Regions from separate parts of the Homo sapiens genome. Here regions 1 and 2 are each linked to region 3. The links are contacts of gene promoters, found by promoter capture Hi-C in blood cells and fetal thymus (Javierre and others, 2016). All regions are on one chromosome and are shown on one strand. The core of a region is centred on a gene start or on the middle of the fragment in contact, and the rest is flanking DNA. Distances in the headings are between cores, read along the strand shown.

What was found. Contacts are between HindIII fragments. The CHiCAGO score rates a contact against its expected background, and 5 or more counts as called.
Region 1: the fragment with the promoter of CSPG5 here is called in contact with the fragment with the promoter of DHX30 in region 3 in 3 of 17 cell types (endothelial precursors, M0 macrophages and erythroblasts); the score reaches 6.7 in endothelial precursors.
Region 2: a fragment that was not itself captured here is called in contact with the fragment with the promoter of DHX30 in region 3 in 1 of 17 cell types (megakaryocytes); the score reaches 6.4 in megakaryocytes.

Annotation. Positions count from the first base shown.
Region 1 is chr3:47,575,675-47,580,125 of GRCh38, reverse strand. It overlaps CSPG5 (chondroitin sulfate proteoglycan 5), which reads left to right and starts at 1,261. Exons shown (of 5, transcript NM_006574.4): 1 at 1,261-1,529; 2 at 2,198-3,293. The coding sequence starts at 1,433. RefSeq lists an enhancer at 1-636 and silencers at 1,761-1,810, 1,851-1,910, 1,961-2,050, 3,653-3,947. The HindIII fragment of the contact is 13,333 bases long and covers 1-4,451 here.
Region 2 is chr3:47,992,412-47,996,767 of GRCh38, reverse strand. All of the region lies in intron 2 of MAP4 (microtubule associated protein 4), which reads left to right. Among named protein-coding and RNA genes, the nearest start is that of MAP4, 22 kb to the left of the region's middle. The HindIII fragment of the contact is 1,290 bases long and covers 1,575-2,864 here.
Region 3 is chr3:47,801,837-47,806,004 of GRCh38, reverse strand. DHX30 (DExH-box helicase 30) reads right to left here and starts at 2,867. Exons shown (of 22, transcript NM_138615.3): 1 at 2,793-2,867; 2 at 585-679. RefSeq lists silencers at 1,073-1,269, 2,447-3,296 and an enhancer at 2,197-2,722. The HindIII fragment of the contact is 8,641 bases long and covers 1-4,168 here.

The sequences.
Region 1 (4,451 bases), core at 12-2,511, 220 kb after region 3:
TTACCAGGCAGGAGAGGTGGAGACGCTAGGCTAGGCAAATAGGCTGCAGCCATAGTTCTGCTGAGAAACAGGTTTTGAACCAAGGCAACTCCATCTGGAGATATGTATCAGAAAGATTAGGAGATAGAATCTCCATCTTGGTCACTTATTTGGTCTTCTAAGACAGCAATGGGACCGTCTCTTAAATACTGGAGTTGTCCTATCTCCTTGGGCTGATACCCTGAACTGTCATTTGGGTGAGTAACACATTAAGGGGTAGACGGTCGGTTTGGGGGAATAAACTAAGTAACTAGGTTGCGGTTCCTCCTGCCGACTAAGCAGACCTCCTGGTGCGTGGTCTTGGGTTGCCCTGTGAGCCCTGAAGCTGTGAATGGGCCCCACAGATCACTCTAAAGCCAAGCATCCATGTGTGCCCGGCTGGGGATCTAGACCCCCCTGGTCTACCCAGGAACCTGAGTTTTGGTGGTCTGAGACACCTGGGGGACGACGTATCCCGGAGAAGGGACCAGGATTAAAGGCCGCTCCCCAGGCTGCCCGGAGACTAGAAGGAAGGCGAGGTAGCCGCAGTCCCAGGGAGGGTCTTACCCCTTGCTCCCGGGATGCGTTATGGCGGGCCTGGCTGTGCGAGATCTAGGCTAGTGGCTTTGGCTGCGAACGGATTAGATCTGATCCGATTAGAGCCTGGGCGGTCGGCTTCGCCCCCTTGCCAGGCTCTGCCAACGCCCGCCCCTCCCTCGTGGAGACCCGGAGACCTCCCTGAGAGCCTTCCCGCCCGGAACACGGGATTGGTGCAGAATCCGAGAGGCTCCATGCGCCCCGGGCCTGGCTTGTTTCCACAGTGGGGGCTCGTGCTTCCGCCCCCTGCGGCTCTTCTGGACCCCGCCCCGACCCTGCGGGTAACTGGGCCCGCGACGTCCCCGCCTCCGTGCTTGCCGCGTGGCGGGTGGGTTCCTCCGGGTCGGGGCCCCGTGCCGCCTGTTCACCTGGGGCGGGACCGTGGCCCCATCCCACAGGTCTCCCGCCCGTGCACCTGCCGCCTAACGCCGCGCGCCGCGCCGTGCGCCTGCCTCGCGCTCCCCGTCCGCCTGCCCCGCACTCCCCGTCCGTGTGTCTCCTAGTCCCCAGCGAGGGGTCTGTCTGTTCCCCTGGCAGGCTGACCAAGGGGCCGGCGTCACCGCTACGTGCGGCGGGGCCGGCGCGGCGGGCGGGGTGAGGGCGGCGCTGAGCGCAGCGGCGGCAGCGGCGGCGCGGGAGGCGGGGAGGCGCGGCGCGCCGGGGACAGCGGCGGACGGCGGCGGCGGCGGCATGCGGCTCCTCGCGCTGCCCATCGTGGGCTGAGGCGGCCGCAGAACCGGCGGGAGGCGCGGCGGCCGGGCGAGCCGAGGGCGCAGCCAGCCGGGCGGACCGCGGACAGCGGTCGGGGCGCCGCGCCATGGGGCGAGCCGGGGGCGGGGGCCCGGGCCGGGGGCCGCCGCCACTGCTGCTGTTTCTGGGGGCCGCGCTGGTCCTGGCCTCTGGGGCCGTGCCGGGTAGGTATGACTGCGCCCGGGACCCCCGCGGCCCTCGTGCCCCACCCAGGGCAGGGGTCCCGCTGGCGGCGGGGACAGGTGGAGCTGTGAGCTGTGGCAAGGGGGCGGGGCACCGCCTGGCCGCGGCCGGGCGGCGGAATGGTCCCAGGAGGTGGTGGGGGTCCGGGAAAGGCCGACCCGCGTGGGGGCCGACCCCGGTTGGGGTAGCCGGGACCCAAGCGCGCGGGCCGCGGTGCGGACTGGGGGCGGGGCCGGGGGCGGGGCCGGGGCGGGGCCGGGGCGGGGCCTGAGGGTGAGACTTCGGGGCGGGACCTGGAGCTGAGGGCGGGAGCCAGTGGACGCGGCTCAGGGTGGGTTCCCGAGGGTGAGACTTATGGGTGGGCCGAGCTGGGGGCCGCCCTGGCCTGGCTCTTCAGACGGCGGGGCAGGTCGGGCGGGGCCGAGCCGCGAGGCGTTGGGCGGGGTGTGATCCTCGTCTTGGGGGCAGACTCCGGGACGGGGCTTAGAGGTACCGGGTGGCTGGGGTCACACTGGGGCGGTGGGGTCTGAGGGTGGCGAGGTCTGGGTTGACCAGGTCTAGGCGAGCGGGCCTGACCGGGGCGGGCCGGGGCTCCAGGGCTCCTCAGCGCGCCGCCCTGACGTCCCGCCCCTTGCCCTCCCGCCCGCAGCGCGTGAGGCGGGCAGCGCGGTTGAGGCCGAAGAGCTGGTGAAGGGCAGCCCGGCGTGGGAGCCGCCTGCCAACGACACGCGGGAAGAAGCCGGCCCACCAGCGGCTGGGGAAGATGAGGCGTCGTGGACGGCGCCCGGTGGCGAGCTGGCCGGGCCAGAAGAGGTGCTGCAGGAGTCGGCTGCGGTGACCGGCACCGCCTGGCTGGAAGCTGACAGCCCAGGCCTGGGAGGAGTGACCGCAGAGGCGGGCAGCGGCGATGCCCAGGCCCTTCCAGCTACGCTCCAGGCTCCCCACGAGGTCCTCGGGCAGTCAATCATGCCCCCTGCCATTCCTGAGGCTACAGAGGCCAGCGGGCCACCCTCCCCCACCCCCGGCGACAAGCTGAGCCCAGCTTCTGAACTCCCCAAGGAGAGCCCCTTGGAGGTTTGGCTGAACCTGGGGGGCAGCACACCCGACCCTCAAGGGCCAGAGCTGACTTACCCATTTCAGGGCACCCTGGAGCCCCAACCGGCATCAGATATCATTGACATCGACTACTTCGAAGGACTGGATGGTGAGGGTCGTGGCGCAGATCTGGGGAGCTTCCCAGGGTCACCAGGAACCTCAGAGAACCACCCTGATACTGAGGGAGAGACCCCTTCCTGGAGCCTGCTTGACTTATACGATGATTTCACCCCCTTCGATGAATCTGATTTCTACCCCACCACATCCTTTTATGATGACTTGGATGAAGAGGAGGAGGAAGAGGAGGATGACAAAGATGCAGTAGGAGGTGGAGACCTAGAAGATGAAAATGAGCTTCTAGTGCCCACTGGGAAGCCTGGTCTGGGGCCCGGGACAGGCCAGCCCACCAGTCGGTGGCATGCTGTCCCTCCACAGCACACTCTGGGGTCGGTCCCCGGCAGCAGCATCGCCCTCAGGCCCCGCCCAGGAGAGCCAGGCAGGGACTTGGCCTCCAGTGAAAATGGCACTGAGTGCCGCAGTGGCTTTGTGCGGCATAACGGCTCCTGCCGGTCAGTGTGCGACCTCTTCCCAAGTTACTGTCACAATGGCGGCCAGTGCTACCTGGTGGAGAACATAGGGGCCTTCTGCAGGTAAGGGCATGGCAGGCAGGTGCATAGGGACACTGAAGAGTGTATGTGAGGCCGACTCAACAGAGGGCAGCGTAGCCGGGCGCGTTGGCTCACGCCTGTAATCCCAGCACTTTGGGAGGCTGAGGCAGGCGGATCTCCTAAGGTCAGGAGTTCAAGACCAGCCTGGCCAAGTTGGTGAAACCCCATCTCTACTAAAAATACAAAAAATTAGCTGGGCGCGGTGGCAGGCACCTGTAGTCCCAGCTACTCAGGAGGCTGAGGAAGGAGAATCATTTGAACCCGGAGGGTGGAGGTTGCAGTGAGCCAAGATCGTGCCACTGCCCTCCAGCCTGGGTGACAAAGTGAAACTCCATCTCAAAAAAAAAAAAAAACAAAACAAAACAGAGGGCAGCGTGACAGGCACAACTTGCAAGAGGTTGTACAGTCGCAGGATTCCCAGGTGGAGAAATGTTCACTCAGGCTTCTTCTACAGAATTACTTGGTAAAATGCACTTCCTGTGACCTTATCACTAGGAGAGGTTCCTCAGAAATAAGATTATGTCTTTCCTCTGTGTGTTGTGTCCTTACCCAAACCCTCAATTACAAAGGCAAAATGAGGCCGGGCGTGGTGGCTCACGCCTGTAATCCCAGCACTTTGGGAGGCCGAGGTGGGCACATCACCTGAGGTTGGGAGTTCGAGACCAGCCTGACCAACATGGAGAAACCCTGTCTCTACTAAAAACATAAAAAATTTAGCCGGGTGTGGTGGCACATGCCTGTAATCCCAGCTACTCGGGAGGCTGAGGCAGAATTGCTTGAACCCAGGAGGTGGACGTTGCAGTGAGCCGAGATCACGCCATTGCACTCTAGCCTGGGCAGCAAGAGCGAAACTCTGTCTCAAAAAAAAAAAAAAAAAAAAAAAAAGGCAAAATGAAGGGAATTCTTTAAGAGTTTTGGAAAAAGGGCTGGGTTGAGGGGTGTTTGCTGGAGGGTTCTGGTGGTACTGGTGAGAGGGGTAGGCCCATAAACCTACTCTGTGGGATAAAGACAGCTGTTGAACACCGCTCCATGCCTTGTGCTCGGCGGGAGGAGGGGCCAGTTCCCTGGAAGGAATGTAGGCACGCAAACTCAAAAGGGAGGACCTTCTTGGAAACAGACCCCAAAATGCAGCCACTCACA
Region 2 (4,356 bases), core at 970-3,469, 190 kb before region 3:
GTGTGTGTGTGTGTGTGTGTGTGTGTGTGTCTTAGTTTTTGATTGAATGCTGGATCTCACATGTAAAATAGTAGGCTGAGGCCAAAAGGTGTTATGGTTGGAAATAGGCATGTCTCTTGGGTTTAGTCATTTTAACAGGAGCTGAGCTAGTTTTGGGTTTTGTCATTACCGTAATTGCCTTCAGTGTACTACTGTCTTCAATCCCTTTAATTCTATGCTTAGAGTGGGGACTGAGGCCCTGGAAGGTATTTCTTTAATGTGCTTGCTCCACTCTTTCAGCCTTCCCTGTGTACCCGTGCCTCAGAGGGGTCCTTGTCCATGCTCTTTTCTCTCTTATCGGAAGAGTTCTAGCCAGGTGGCAGGCAGAGTTTGTTTTTTTATTGTCCCATTTTGTGCTTAATCCTGTGCTTAATCTCACGGTTTGGGTCTTTCTCAACGTTATTATCCTTTTCACAGTAGTAGCGTCTTCTCATGGTATTGGTGTAGGATCCTGGATGAGGAGTTTTTCTTGCTCCTCTCTCAGGTTTATAAAGTATGTTTCTATTACTCTTTCCCTAGCTACAGCCGGTCTTCTTGTGTGCTCTGGGGTTGACAGGGTTTGTACTCCTTCCCCAGGAGAGAAAGATCCCAGTGGGAGGGGTTCATGCTTTTCCCTTAATGGTGGTGGCCTTCTCCAGGTCTGTACCATGGAGGGAGGCTCTGTCTGGTCCCTCACCCTGCTTCCAATCTTTCCTGTGAGCATGCGGCAGACATCTGTGAAGACAATCCTGCAAATGAGTGTGAATTCCCTTTGTGTCTGTGGATTTGAGGGGCCCCATAGTCTCATGCTAGCCTTCATTTACCTTTGACAAATCACTACAATTTTTACTTGAATTTTTCTTACCTGCTTGTAGGGTACCCAATGTCTCTTCTGCACATGCTCTGATACAGGAGAGCTGGTGTTCACCTCCCATATTTCCTGGAGGGGCTTGTTTTTCTTTGGATTTCATACTACTAGGTGGCTTTCCAATTAATTCAAGTTTTTTGTAGTTGATATGGCTGTTTCTTGTTGTTAGGGTGGGAGTGACGTTGCTTTTGGCTTTCTACAGCCAAGTGGAAGAAGAAAACCTGCTTCCTTAATATATGTTTAATTTGTGTGTTGGGGAGGGGGGGCAGACCACAACTCATTTAAAAAAGTACCGAGAGTTCTAATTATATCCATATAAATATTTACTCCAGACCAGGTGCAGTGGCTCACGCCTGTAATCCCAGCACTTTGGGAGACCAAGGCAGGTGGCTCACCTGAGGTCAGGAGTTTGAGACCAGCCTGGCCAACATGGTGAAACCATACCTCTACTAAAAATACAAAAATTAGCCAGGGGTAATGGTGTGCACCTGTAATCCCAGGTACTCAGGAGGCTGAGGTACAAGAATCACTTGAACCTGGGAGGCGGAGGTGGCAGTGAGTGGAGAGCGTGCCACTGCACTCCAGCCTGGGCGAGAGAACGAGACTCTGTCTCAAAAAAAAAAAAAAAAAAGAAAAGAAAAAAAGTTGCTATCATTGCTTACAAAAGTATCTTGATGTTGCAAAAGCTTATGTTGAGAAGTAAAGTTCATATTTTATTTTTATCCTTTAATTCAATTTTCCAGAAACTCATACATTTTTTGAACAGGCTAAAAAATACACATGTACAAAATCCAATTGGTCCAAAGGGATGTACGGTAAAACAAATTCTCCCAATCCCTACACCCTAGCCAGACAGTTCTCCTTCCTGGAGTAACCACTCGCCAATTTCTGGAGTAGTCTTTCTGAGTTAATGAACTTTTTTTTTTTTTTTTTGAGATGGAGTCCCGCTCTATTGCACAGGCTGGAGTGCAGTGGCACGATCTCTGCTCACTGCATCCTCCGCCTCCCAGGTTCAAGCGATCCTCCTGCCTCAACACCCCAGTAGCTGGGATTACAGGCCTGCACCACCATGCCTGGCTAATTTTTGTATTTTTAGTAGAGATGGGGTTTCGCCCTGTTGGCCAGGCTGGTCTCAAACTCCTGACCTCAGGTGATCCACTTGCCTTGGCCTCCCAAAGTGCTGGGATTACAGGCATGAGCCACCATTTACATATCAAAAGTAGCAGGGAGGATTTAATTTTTTATAAATAAAATAATGTCTTAAAAACTTTCCTCCTCTTGGGCCAAGTTAATGTTACATGGATCAAATAACTCAAGATGAAGCACAAGAAAATCTACTGCTACCACCTCACTGTCCTTATCCACCTAGGCTCATTCCCAGATGATGGAAACAATGCACAGTTAAAGGAAATTAGAAAACGAAAAGCAGCTAGCTTCTTTCACCTATGACTGATGAGGGTAAGTTAATATTAGGATGGGAAGAGCATCTCAACCATGACTAGTTGCTACCATATTTACATCTTATCATTCCTTTCTTCATACTAGGTTTTCTTTGTTTATGTTAGTCAGTCAAAGAACAAATGTCTCCACCGTGCATTATGGATTAAGAGAGAATAGATTTTCCCGTTTTCCATTAAGGAATCCAAATTTTTTGGAGTAAATATTTGTTTTTCTTTTGTGCTGGGATTATAGGTGTGAGCCACTGTGCCTGGCTTTTTTACATTATTAAATGAAGAAAAATGAAGAAATGAAGAAAAATGGATGCCCTTTAAAGTTTTTTTTGGTTTAAGTTTTTAATTTTTTGTTGCTACCAAAGATTTTTTTAAAGATTAGGAAACAAAAAAGAAGGAACCAAATCAGGACTGTTGTAAGGTGGTTGCCTAATGATTTCTCATCAAAACTGTCACAAATTATCTTTGTTGATGAAAGGAATGAACAGGAGCATTGTCCTGGTGGAGAAGGACTCTCTGATGAAGCTTTCCTGGCTGTTTTTCTGCTAAAGCATTGGCTGACTTTCTCAAAACACCCTCATAATAAGATGTTGTCATTCTTTGGCTCTCCAGAAAGTCAACAGACAAAGTGCTTTGAGCATCCTAAAAAACTCTTGTGTTTGCTCTTGACTGATCCACTTTTGCTTTGACTACAGCACTTACGCCTCTTGGTAGCCATTGCTTTGATTGTGCTTTGTCTTTAGGATTATACTGGTAAAACCATATTTCATCTCCTGTTACAATTCTTCAAAGAAATGCTTCAGGATCTTGATCCCACTTGTTTAAAATTTACATCGAAAGCTCTGCTCTTTGCAGCTCATCTGGATGCAACCATTTTGGCACCAGTTGAGTGGAAAGTTTGCTCAATTTTAATTTATCAGCCAAAATTGTATAAACTGAACCAATTGAGATGTCTGTGGTATTGGCTATTGTTTCTGCTAATTGTCAATCCTCTTCAATTAGATCATTCTTTTTTCCTCTCAAATTGATATTGGTGGTCTGCCACGGTGGGCTTCATCTTCAACATCATCTCCTCCTTTATTTTTTTTCTTTTTTTGAGACAGAGTCTTACTACATTGCCCAAATTAGAGTATAGTGACTATTTACAGGTGTAACCATAGCACACTACAGCCTTGAACTCCTGGGCTCAAGTGATCCTCCTGTCTCAGCCTTCCAAGTAGCTGGGACTATAGGTGCGGACCACTGCATCTGGCTGATGTCTTAAAACAAGTTATTCATGTGTAAACTACTGATTTGTTTGGGGCATTGTCCCCATAAACTTTACACAAAGCATCAGTGATTTCACCATTCTTTCATCCAAGCTTCACCATAAATTTACCATTTGCTTTTGCTTCAATTTTAGCAGAATTCATGTTGCTTTATTAGGGGCTCTTTTCAAACTGATGTTTTATCCTTTTTAGTGCTTCAAACTAGATCCTGTTCAGACGTGTTATAACAAGTTAGTATGAGCTTTTTTTTTTTTTTTTTAAGATGGAGTGTCTCTCTGTCACCCAGGCTGGAGTGCGGTGGCACAGTCTCGGCTCACTGCAACCTCTACCTCCTGTGTTCAAGAGATTCTCCTGCCTCAGCCTCCTGAGTAGCTGGGCTTATAGGCACATGCTACCATGCCCAGCTAATTTTTGTATTTTTAGTAGAGATGGGGTTTCGCCATATTGGTCAGGCTGGAGTATGAGTTATTTTGATACAAAAAAACTCCCTTGAAATCCATGAATAATTTTTTCATAGAATGCATTTTCCACGAACTTGTTGAAGATACCATGTTTAAAGTTTATAATTATAGCTGGGCGTGGTAGTGTGCGCCTGTAGTCCGAGCTACACAGGAAGCTGAGGTAGGAGGCAATCACTTGAGCCCCAGAGGTCGAGGCTGCAGTGAGCCATAAAAGCACCACTGTGCTGCAGCCTGGGTGACAGAGAGAGACCCCGTCTCTAAAAATAATAATAATAATAAAGTTTATAATT
Region 3 (4,168 bases), core at 1,618-4,117:
AAAAACCTTGTAGCTCAATGTGTCTCTTAAGTAATTTACAGATAAGTAAAATGCTATTATATCAAGATTTCCTGCATAATGAAATACAATTTAACTCCAGGTAGAGTCACTTGGGGATGGTTCCAGGACAGAGACTCCACAATGACTAAAAATGATACCCTTCTGGCTGGGCACAGTGGCTCATGCCTGTAATCCCAGCACTTTGGGAGGCTGAGGCAGGCTGATCACCTGACGTCAGGGGTTTGAGACCAGCCTGGCCAACATGGTGAAACCCAGTCTCTACTAAAAATACAAAACAATCAGCTGGGCATGGTGGCAGGCGCCTGTAATCTCAGCTACTTGGGAGGCTGAGACAGGAGAATTGCTTGAACCTGGGAGGCAGAGGTTGCAGCAAGCCAAGATCGCGCCACTGCACTCCAGCCTGGGGGACAAAGCGAGACTCTGTCTCAAAAATAAAACAAAATAAAATAAATGATATCCTTCTTCCAAAATGGTCAGAAATAGGTTTAACACATACCTCTTGTTTTACAGTACAGCTGAGCATCAGATCCACCACTGCTCTGTGCACGGCTAAATCAACTTACCTTATAAAAGCAATGACAGTCTCAGATTTTGTAGGCTTTTGAACTGGAGCTGAATTCTCTCCTTGCTATTCCTCATCACGAGGCTGGGCCTCCTCCTGAGAAGTACAACGCTGAGTCAATACAGTGGAGGCCCCATAGGGAAAGAAAGTTGCTCCAACCATCATTTACTAGCTCTAACAAGGACAAATTTTGTTAGTGGCATGAAGGGCACATACTGGACAAAATGGCCTTACAAATCAGGACTTACCATGACCCATTCTAGGCCCATTAAATTGTAAGCTGTCCTACACCAGCACCTGTAGAAGTGCTGAAGTCTTCTGACATCATCTAAGAAGATGTCAAGGTAAAGAAAGCCTTGTAAGCCTGAAAAGCATTTTCTGGAAGCCCAGAGCAAAACCTACTTCCACTTTGAGTTCTAATCCCATAATAATTATGATAATCTAACATAAAGAAGCTATAATACTCTTCAAGATTGGGAAAATAACAATAACTCAAAGTTGAATACCATTTTTACAGTTCACAACATACTTCCATAGACTTTACCCCATTTAATCCAGGCAACTATCCAGTGAGGTAGGAATTATCTTTCCAGAGAAGAAAACTGAAGCACAGGTTACACAACCTGCCCAAGATCCCATAGCTGCCTCAGGGCAGATGGAAATCAGCATTGAAGCATGCTGACTCCAAAACCCTCCATGCTTATACTAGGCTAATTTTCTTATTTCCAGGATATTATGCTGTTGCCTAAATGTACTACGGTTCATTCCTTGAGACATATTATACTGTTATCTTCAAAGGCTGAAAGGGGCAAGAAAGGTCCAACAGCTAATAAAACTTGTGTGTGGTTTTTGTTTTGTTTTGTTTTGAGAAGGAGTTTCGCTCTTGTTGCCCAGGCTGGGGTGAAATGGCGCGATCTTGGCTCACTGCAACCTCGGCCTCCTGGGTTCAAGCAATTCTCTTGCCTCAGCCTCCCAAGTAGCTAGGGTTACAGGCGCACGCCACCATGCCCGGCTAATTTTTGTATTTTTAGTAGAAACGAGGTCTAGCCATGTTGGCCAGGCTGGTCTCAAACTTCTGACCTCAGGTGATCCACCCGCCTCGGCCTCCCAAAGTGCTGGGATTACAGGCGTGAGACACCGCTCCCGGCCCTAATAAAACTTTGTATCACAGCTACATAAATTAAAACACTTGAAGAGCAACTATCTTTTAGGGATAAAGAGCCAACACCGGTAGAAAACGCAGCAAAGGATGTAGTTTCTGCACATCGCCTTAAATCTCTAAGATTTAAGTGTAAATTACAAGATGTAGTTAAAACCCACAATGACAGTGGGGTTACCACCTTGCAAGAAACTTCAAGGGAAATCACCAGACAACGTCTCATTTCACTCTGGCCCATAAGCTGCAACTAAAACCAGGTTGAAAGCCTGTAAGTGGCCTTCTGCAGTCTACCTGCTAGTGTATGGCAAACCCTCATGGAGTGGGGTTGTAAAGTGAAACAGCCTCTGCCTTGAAAAATCATAATTCAAGTGACCAATGTTGCTACACAACGACTAGATATGCCATATCCCTGGCTTAGGGTTTCTGAGGACCCCTGGGACTCCAGTTCACTGCAAACAAAGGACCCAACATGCATTTGGTCTTCCCCTGCTAAATGGGACAAGTTACCACCAGCAAACAAAGAATACCTCACCCCTTGGCCTCCCCCAGTGACAAGGTCGGTGCAAAAGGGGGCAAACTAGGGGGGCCAGAAGGCACCGGGCCTCCCTCTGGACGAACGGTCCGGGCAGCACCGGGAAGGAGGAGAAGTAGACAAAGGTCTCGGGGCACTCAGGAGGCTTCCTCCAGGCCCTGCCTGGGGAAACGGCGCATCCCGAGGCGAAGGCGTCGTTGCGCCAATGAAGCGGCCTCTCCCACGGCCTCCGCGGAGCCCCTGGCTGCGAGGCCCGCCCCGGCGGACCGGTCTGGCCCCCGCCCCCGCCCGGGCTCCATGGCAACGGCAGGCCGAGGCCTGGCTGCCCACGGATCGGCCGGGCCGGCTTCCCGGGCAGGCCTAGGATGCCCGGCCTGCTCCTCGGGCCCGCCGGCGTCTCCGCCCCACTCTCCGCCAGGCTGGCGGTCGGACCGGGCCCCCTCCTCACGACGACCACCCCCGGCCGCGGCAGGCTCCTCAAGAGGGCACGAAAGGGGAGAATAAAAAGCCCAATTCACCTGTTGTTACAGATGTGAAACAAGCCTCTGTGCACCGCGCATGAGCCGCGGCTCCCCCAACCACGGCCGGACTACAACTCCCAGCAGCGGCGGCGCGGCCCCTTCCGAGTCCCGTGGCGGAAGTCCCGCCACCGGCCCGGCGTTCCCCACCCGGCGTCACGGAGCCCGCCTGCGGCGCACGGCTCCGCTCCCCCGCGGGCCTGGAGCCCGGCCCCACCTGGGACTCGTCGTAGCCGCTCGGGGCACCCAGCGCCCGGGATGCCCCAGCACCCGGCCCAATGGGGCGCGGCGGCGGTGCAGGCGGGACTTCCGGCGGAGTCGCGAAGGGGACGGGTTGGCGCCGGCTGCTCTGGGGTCGCAGAGCGAGCGGGTTTGGGTGGCGGGGTCGGGCGTCAAGTTGCTGCCTTTCTCGGCGACTTAGCTGCCTGCAGTGTGAAAGCGGGAAGGGTCTTCTCGCCCTCTGCGAGCCACCCGCGCCTCCTGATGCGAATAAACAGCCCGGGTCATGGCTGAGCGGGGAACGGTTTCCAGCTCGGGCTCCGGGATTCCACCCGCCTTCCCCGCCACAGCTCGTAGCCACGCCTCTTCTCTTCCCCATCTCCCCTCTAATCTGTTTTTTTAGGGAGGTGAGCATTTTTGTCTTGTCTCCCCAGTTTGCAGGGAAGATGAAATCAACGTGTTGGTTCGTTGATTTCGTAAACTGTACAACGTTAGGCAAAGGACAAGGTGGCACTTGCTGGTCGCGGGGAGAGTGCCAGTCATAGTTGCTGGAAATCTGGAGGTCCGCCCGGCCACATCACCTCTTAGGAATGAGAAAGGGGATTGTCCCAATTACACGCTGTAGTCCTCTAGATAAGGTTCAAGTATAGGTTCAGTGGAATTCAGCTTCAAAAGGAAACAACGCAGTGGCGTAGCTCTGAAGCTGGGTCAGGATTTTACAGAGTATGGTTTTAAGATGTGGCCTTTAGGCCGGGCGTGGTGGCTCACGCCTGTAATCCCAGCACTTTGGGAGGCCAAGGCGGGTGGATCACCTGCGGTCAGGAGTTCAAAACCAGCCTGGCCAACATGGTGAAACCCCGTCTCAACTAAAAATGCAAAAAAATTAGCTGGGCGTGGTGGCGGGCGCATATAATCCTAGCTACTTCGGGAGGCTGAGGCAGGAGAATCACTTGAACCCGGGAGGCGGATGTTGCAGTAAGCCGAGATCGTGTCATTGAACTCCAGCCTGGGCGACAAGAATGAAACTTAAAAAAAAAAAAAAAAAAAGATGTGACCTTTGAGGCTGTATGAAGAATTAGTGCCATATCCCGTCACTTTTGTGTGCAAACAGTTCAACATGTATCTCTTTTCTTTCTCTCTACATTGGCTAGAAGACC